Regions from separate parts of the Homo sapiens genome. Here region 1 is linked to region 2. The links are contacts of gene promoters, found by promoter capture Hi-C in human tissues and cell types (Jung and others, 2019). All regions are on one chromosome and are shown on one strand. Each heading gives the region's core, a stretch centred on a gene start or on the middle of the fragment in contact. The rest is flanking DNA. Distances are from core to core; before and after follow the strand shown. Region 1 overlaps BCAS3 (BCAS3 microtubule associated cell migration factor). Region 2 holds the start of INTS2 (integrator complex subunit 2).

Region 1 (4,187 bases), core at 65-2,564, 1.1 Mb after region 2:
AGGATATGTGTAAAAATTTATAGTCAATTATTTTCCTTGTCAATTCTTAAAATGATAGCAGAAAAATCTAAGCTTTTGCTTATCTTTATTAAGAAGACAATAAAATATCCTGTTCTAAATTAATACTTCTAAGAAATCTGACATATTATTGAAGTACAACAAAATTATTCCTCTTGTACCATAAAATGTTTTGTTTGAAAACTAGTAAGAATATTTACATTCATTTTACATAAATGTTATTATATTACATAATTTGTGATAAAGCCACATTAGTATAATTTCTCTTTCCTGTTATTAGAATCAGAAAAATATCACATGATGATTTAAATCCTTCTAATGATAATATGCAGTTATTTTATAGTGAAATATAACTTAAATTGCACCAAATACCTACAGATATAAATACAGCTTTAAAAAGTAGTTTCACGTTTTGACAGATTACTTTTCATAGTAGACAGAGAAGTAAAATGTTTTCTTATTTGGCTTTTCTTGTAAAGGCAGTTGGAATTGAGCGGAAAATGAAGGGGCGTCAAATGACAAAGCCAAATGTTGCAAAATATATCTATTATATCAAATGTGGATAATTACAGTTTTGAAAGAATACGTGAAGTGAAAATATATAAGTGCCTTACCACTGATTAAAGTTTTTGTAAACATATGTACCGAACGAAATAAAAATAAATTGTTTGTAACATAATTTTGAAACTTGGTAGTTCAAACAAATAGCCCTCATTCACAATTCACAAAACTACTATATGAATGAATGGTCACAGATGCAATGCAAAAGTATAAGTGTGCAAAATGCAAAATACTAAGGTTATAATGAAGCAATCTGTAACCACAGCAACTGTGAGTTTCTGACACAATCTTGAAAGAAATTTGGGATTTCACTACAATTCTTATTGCCTAGGATCAAGAAAACTCACAGCATTCTGCTTTTAAAAATTAAAACTATTTCTTTAGGACATCCAACTAAAAGACTGCCAAAATAAATTTTTGCCAACATAAAAACATGATTTTATTTGCATTATAAAAAAAGTGCTATTAGTGCTTTTCAAGAATTATCTAAAAGGTATTTCAAGAAGATTAGATAAGGGCTGGAGCTGGAGACACAAGACAGCACAGATGCACAAGGGCAGACTATTTGAAAATTGGATTCTTTTAGAATATATAAAATGGGCCAGGTACAGTGGCTCGCACCTGTAATCCCAGCTGTTTGGCAGTCTGAGGTGGGAGGATCGCTTGAGCTCAGGAGTTTGAGACCAGCCTGGGCAATACAGTGAGACCCCTATCTCTATTTTTTAAAAATAGATTATATAAAATGACTTGTCATGGTACTTGTATTTTACATTGTATAGAAACACTGCCTTTAAAGGCAGAAGTTGAAAAGCAGGTGCTTTTAGAGAACTAATTCTTTTTATTTCAAAAATGCATACATGGCCAAACCTTTTGTGACACATAAGTGGAATGATATTAACTTTCACAAAGATTAGAGAAATGTCTTTTAGGTTCTAGTCTCAGATGGAGAACTAATAATGGAAACTGGAAATTCCCACTTTTTCCAGGATTAAGCAATTTAATAGTTATCAGTTTGATACTACAAAAGTTTTTAGAATTCATTTTGAAAAGCACACTTTAAGATCCAAATTCTCCTTAAAAATGCATAGAATGTTTCTTCTCAATTATAAAAAATAACCTCTTTACATTTGGAATCTAAATTTTCAATTAAAGGAGAAACTTTAAAAAACAAAAAAAAATCCTACCTCAGGCAAGCCTCAGTTCACTGGATCTATGTCACATTGATTTATAACAGTTATTTCTTAGGGGATAAAAAAGCACACACAGATGCAAACAATTACTCTATTTTTGTAGGCAACAAGTGAGGTGGGTGGTAACTGAGAAATTTTTTTTAAATCCTGTCACAATATTCTGCTTTTTCTTAAGAAACCCTCCTCACACAACAAACGTTTGCCACATCAGAGAATTTCCAGGGCCTGAAGCACCACTTTGATTCCAGCCCGCTGCAGGCATTAGCAGGAGGTAATTAGGGTAAAAAGTTCAGCCACAGTTCCATGTGTAGAGTCCTGCCAGAAATAAATTTCCTCTCTATTCACTGGTTTCTACTGTACCCTCCCCTAACAATCATACTGAAAACACATTTATCTTTGTAGAGTTTGTTCCTCTTCTAATTAACTTTATGGCATTTACAGTGTTTAATAATTTAAAACGGCACCAATTGCAGCAGTTTTATACTTAATAGTGCAGTGGTGTATTATCATTTTTCCTCTATTGCTGCTTCGTTTGACAAATGACTCTCAGAAGTATGCACTGCAGCTGTTTTCATCATCATAAACGTACATTTTATTTTTTTGTCTGAGAAAGGTGCACGGACAAAACTGACAAACAGATGCATTCAGAATGTTTTCTTCTGAATTTTTCAAGAAAGTGAAAAAGACTAATCAAAAAATTAAAAATGACATTACTTTACAATATACAAATTATTGTATTTTATATTTTCCACAGAGATAAATGTGACTACATCTAAATAACTGATAAGACTTAAACATACCACATATTTGAGGGCTTGTCATTTAAAAAAAAAAACCCACCGCCAAAGAGGCACTCAAAATACTGTCCCTTGCTCTGCATTAGTCTCTCCAAAAGCACATCCACCCACACCCACACACACGTAGGGAGGCTCTAATTAACATGCCAGTCATCTCACAATAACTGTTTTAACCTTCGTTGTATACTGTGTTTGGTAAACAAGATGTTAATAAAATTATATAAATGAAAAGAAAACCACTTGTCACAACAATTGTTTTCTAACAAAGGATAAAATCAGTTAACATAAGGAAGACATAACATAGGTCGGTGCAGTGGCTCATGCCTGTAATCTCAGCACTTTGGGAGGCTGAGGCGGGAGGATCACCTGAGGTCAGGAGTTCGAGACCAGCCTGGCCAACATGGTGAAATCCTGTCTCTACTAAAAATACAAAAATTAGCTAGGCGTGGTGGCACGCGCCTGTAGTCCCAGCTACTCAGGAGGCTGAGGCAGAAGAATCACTTGAGCCTGGGAGGCAGAGGTTGCAGTAAGCCGAGACCGTGCCACTACACTCCAGCCTGGTTGACAGAATGAGGCTGGGTCTCAAAAAAAAGACATAACATATAACTCAATCAAAAGACATTTATTGGCCAGATGCAGTGGCTCATGCCTGTAATCACAGCACTTAGGGAGGCCAAGGCAGGAGGATCACTTGAGTTCAGGAGTTCGAGACCAGCCTAGGCAATACCACAAAACCCCGTCTAGCCGAGTCTGGTGGGACACACCTGTAGTCCCAGCTACTAGGGAGGCTGAAGTGGGAGAACTGTTTGAGCCCGAGGGTCAAATGTTGCAGTGAGCCAAGACTGTACCACTGCACTCCAGCATGGATCACAGAGTAAGACCTTGTCTTAAAAAAACAAAAGGATGTTTATTTAAAAAAAAAAAAAAACCCAAAAATTAAATCTTGGCTCTAGAATATTATAGTAGTTGTGATAAATACCTTATTGAGCCAGAAAATTTATTTTTAAGATAATAATAATCTATTCATGGACATAAAACAAAACTTCAAAGTTTGTAATTTTTTCAAGTTTTTCAGCCAGCTTTATAATTTAAACTCCTTTTGTGTAAAAGGAGTTTTTCTAAATCTTTCCAAATTCTCTTCAAATATTTGGTCCTCAGTATCCTAAGGTATGATCAACAGCTTTACACAAAGAAATAAAGAAAAAAAGTATAGCCCTTGTACAATCCTGAACAAAACACACCTGAGGGTCATACAGCATTTTAAAAATTTTCCTGTACCATTTCACTTAGCATGACCTTTCCTATAAAGTTAACTATTCAGGACTTCATGTTTGTCCCATTTTTCCCCTTCATGATCTAGATGACATCAAGGATTTCTGCCATTTTCCAGGTAAGTTTTCCAACTATACTTGTGCAACCATCACGTTTTATACTGTTACAGTTAGTTTTACAGTTCTCAAACATAAAGAAACACTATTTAAAAGTGTTCAGGCTGGGCGCAGTGGCTCACGCCTATAATCCCAGGACTTTGGGAGGCTGAGGTGGGCAGATCATGAGGTCAGGAGTTTAACACCAGCCTGGCTAACATGGTGAAACCCCATCTCTACTAAAAATACAAAAT
Region 2 (4,097 bases), core at 437-2,936:
GTGACCAGCAGTTTTTTAAAGAGAAGTAGAAACATGTAGTGTGTGTGTTATTATACGAAATATTTGTTTCCATGTAAATGTGGGTTTATATGTTATATATTTATATGTTTATATAGCATATAAATTTATACACTTACACTTATTTTTGTATGTGGATATATACATATGTTTTTTCTGGGTCACAATGTGAAATGTATTATTGTGGGTCAGGTGGAAAAAATTTTCAGAAGCATTGCAACACACAATTCTTTTCTTCCTTTGCTGATCTATGTTGAAAGTCATATATATATATATATTTTTGAGATGGAGTCTGGCTCTGTTGCCCAGGCTGGAGTGCGGTGGCATGATCTCTGCTCACTGAAACATCTGCCTCCTAGGTTCAAGTGATTTTCCTGTCTCAGCCTCCGAAGTAGCTGGGACTACAGGTGCTCCATCACCACGCTGGGGTAATTTTTTTTTTTTTTTTTTTTTTTTGAGACGGAGTTTCGCTCTTATTGCCTAGGCTGGAGTGCAATGGCACGATCTCAGCTCACCACAACCTCCGCCTCCCAGGTTCAAGCAATGCTCCCGCCTCAGCCTCCCAAGTAGCTGAGATTACAGGCGCACACCACCACGCCTGGCTAATTTTTGCATTTTTAGTAGAGGCGGAGTTTCACCATGTTGGTCAGGCTGGTCTCGAACTCCTGGCCTCGTGATCTGCCTGCCTCGGCCTCCCAAAGTGCTAGGATTACAGGCATGAGCCATCGTGCTCGGCCTAATTTTTATATTTTTTGTAGAGTTGGGGTTTAGTCATGTTGCGTCAGGCTGGTCTCGAACTCCTGACCTCAGGTGATCCGCCCGCCTCGGCTTCCCAAAGCGCTGGGATTACAGGCATGAGACACCACGCCCGGCTCTGACTTTATTTTTAAAGAGGTTATAAAGTGCTATATCTTTGTAAAATATTTTTATTTCCAGCTCCTAGCACAATATCTGGTAAATAGAAGTTGCCAAATAAACGTTGATCGAACTAGGAACAATAAATAGTATGAAGACATATGGACTAGCGGTTCTTCATATATAGACTAGTGGTTCTTTTCTGAGTGATCAGACTTCCTTTGAGAAGTTGTTGAAAGTTTTGGACCCTCTTCCCAGAAGAAGTGCCGAGCACTCAGTTCTGAACGGATTCCAGAGAATTCCTGAATCCCCGTGCATTGCCTCTCTAAGGTTCTATGGGTCCCCCAAGTTAAGAACCTGAAAGGAAGGTGTTTAACTTCTGACAGCGGAGGTGTGAGGTCAAGAGCGGAAGAAAGTTTGGGGTTAGATCACTTTTAAAATTCTCCCACAAATCCTGGGATTCTAGAATTTTGGTTCTGGGAAGGCACAGGCAAAGATTTAAAGAGTACAGTTTGGTACCACTAGTGTCAAAGAATAGTGGGAACGATTTTAACACACGTTATGCCATTTGAATGCCATGGCAATCCTGTGATGATGAAATTTAAGTTCTGAGGGGCTCAGTGGCTTGCTTGTCTAAAAGGAAGGAGCTGGTAGGCTCTGGAAATCAGAGCCTACCAGAATCACATTTCTAAATTTTTGGCGAACAAGTAGGGCAGGGCAAATAAAGTGGAGAAAGGGGCGGGGCCGCGCACGCGCACAGTTGCATTGGCGCCGACGTCTCTGCCTTTCCTCTCGCAGCCACCCTTCCTCTCAGACCAGTACGGTGGCCGACGGGAGTCAGACGCTGGGGATGAATGAAGGTGCTGGGTGCAGGTTGAAAAAGTCTCCCGCTTTTCCGTTCCTACAGTCCCGGTTCTGCCTTTGTGTGGTGCCCCCATCCTTCCCACTTTGTATCGACAACCCGGTTGGTCCCGGCGTCTGAGTTCTTGGTGTCCGAGTCGACTCGAGGCACAACTAGGGTTTGGGGTTCCGGATATCGCCTAGGCCCAACATCGGACCGCGCTCTCGATTTCTGCCGCGTCCCGCCTCTAGGACGCGGAGTCCGTGTGCGGTTCCGTGAGGCTGGAGGGTAGATCTTAAGGTATGAAGCGTCCGCTTCTCTGGCCTCAGCGCGTTCCTAGGTCCGTGTCGGAGCCTGGCCAGACTTTGCTCAGCCTGAGGGACTTATTGGTTCTAGTTGCGCCCGGGGCGAGACGGAGGAGCACGCAGGTCTTGGCTCCTCTGCTCCAGTCAGCCCGCCCCTCTGTTAAAAGAGCAGCCCCTCCCTGAAAGCAAAGCAGTTTTTACCCACGACTTTTACCCACGCTGCTGCTAGTCGGTCGGCCTTGAGAGGGGACTGCTTTGGCTGCCAGCTCACTGCCTTTTTGTTTACTTTTTGTGCCTTGGATGATTCCTGGAGACAGAGAAGTGCGCTAATGAGACGCGTCTTTCTCACATAGCACCCACACATCTGCTTTTTACCCGGTAACACAGGGGACATAGGATAGTGTTGTGGCCTCCAGAGCCTTGAATCTGGCATTGGTTCTGCCCAGTGATTTGCTAGTTTTTCCACCGACTCATGGAGGGTGAGAAAGAGAAGCCCAATAGTTCTTGATGTATATCGGGGTAGGCATGTGAAACTATCGGGGTATGAAAGAAAGCACTTAACTATGACCATTCACTTTTGTTTACATTTTGTGGAGCTCATGTGACTGATATAGTGGAGAAAGTCTTGGACTGGGATTTTAGTAGATGAGGATTCAGCCTTGGATTGTGCCTCTAACTAGTAATACTATTTTGGGCGTGTTACTTCATCTCTCTGGGCTTCATATTCCTTCTTTGTAAAATATGAGTATTAGAGCAGAAGATTCCTGAGGCTGGAAGAGACATTAATATACTCTGTTTTCTTTCCCATTTCCCAGGTGACAGTATAAACCTAGGGAGACAGAGAAGCCTTGTCTTGATTGTGCCAGGAACATTGCCAACATAGGGACCTATTAAAGATACACCACATTTTTCAGGGTTTTTAGAAAGTTGGGTGTTCATACATGTGAAAGTTAAACTCCTACTTTCATTTGTATTTTTACCATTAGGATCAACAAACAGTAATAATGACTGAATGTACAAGTCTTCAGTTTGTCAGCCCTTTTGCTTTTGAGGCAATGCAGAAGGTGGATGTTGTTTGCCTGGCATCTTTAAGTGATCCAGAATTAAGACTTCTTCTGCCCTGTTTGGTACGGATGGCACTTTGTGCACCTGCTGACCAGAGCCAAAGCTGGGCTCAGGATAAGAAACTCATCCTTCGCCTTCTTTCTGGAGTGGAAGCTGTCAACTCCATTGTTGCATTGTTGTCCGTGGACTTTCATGCTTTAGAACAAGATGCCAGCAAAGAACAGCAGCTTAGGTAATGTTATGTTATATTATATGTGGATTTGGATTTGACAAAGAACAGGGAATCAGATATTTTTTAGAGCTCTCCAGAAAAGAGAGAATGAGAATCTAAATTCTGGAGAGCATTTTACTTAGGTCTTTTCTGTATATAGTTACAGTTCCAGAATCTTTTGACTTCCATGTTATAAAATGTTATCTAGAGAAATATGGCAATGTGCTGTTGTATGTGGGCTAAACTCATTAGGCCAATTACTTTCAGTGGGAAGTAGGTAGGGTAACTTCCCCTAGATTAGAGGGATTTATTGGAATCACTTGGGAGGCTTTTTTTTTTCTTTTTTGAGACAGAGTTTCGCTCTTGTTGCCCAGGCTGGAGTGCAATGGCGTGATCTTGGCTCACTGCAACCTCAGCCTCCCAGGTTCAAGCGATCCTCCTGCCTCAGCCTCCCGAGTAGCTGGGATTACAGGCACCTGCCACCATGCCCGGCTAATTTTTTGTATTTTTAGTAGAGATGGGGTTTCATCATGTTGGCCAGGCTGGTCTCCAACTCCTGGCCTCAGGTGATCCACCTGCCTTGGCCTCCCAAAGTGCTGGGATTACAAGTGTGAGCCACTGGGCCCAGCCTCTTGGGAGGCTTTTAAAGCTTAGATATTCCCAAAGATTCTGGGCAGGTGCTATGTCCTTCCCTGCCCATTGTGAATCTAGTAGCAAGCCACCATCAGTGGAAGTGAGTGTTAATTGTCAGTTGTGGTAGAGTATTTATTTATTTATTTTTATTTTTATTTTTTTTTAGACC

The links. The method cuts DNA at HindIII sites, captures the fragments that hold promoters and counts their contacts. A contact is called where the count stands out against the background at its distance.
Region 1: a fragment that was not itself captured here is called in contact with the fragment with the promoter of INTS2 in region 2 in 1 of the 25 tissues and cell types used here (dorsolateral prefrontal cortex).

What each region holds. Positions count from the first base shown.
Region 1 is chr17:60,830,158-60,834,344 of GRCh38, reverse strand. All of the region lies in intron 7 of BCAS3 (BCAS3 microtubule associated cell migration factor), which reads right to left. Among named protein-coding and RNA genes, the nearest start is that of BCAS3, 150 kb to the right of the region's middle. The HindIII fragment of the contact is 3,838 bases long and covers 1-3,233 here.
Region 2 is chr17:61,925,571-61,929,667 of GRCh38, reverse strand. It overlaps INTS2 (integrator complex subunit 2), which reads left to right and starts at 1,686. Exons shown (of 25, transcript NM_001351695.2): 1 at 1,686-2,014; 2 at 3,006-3,316. The coding sequence starts at 3,024. RefSeq lists a silencer at 1,556-1,655. The HindIII fragment of the contact is 16,998 bases long and covers 1-4,097 here.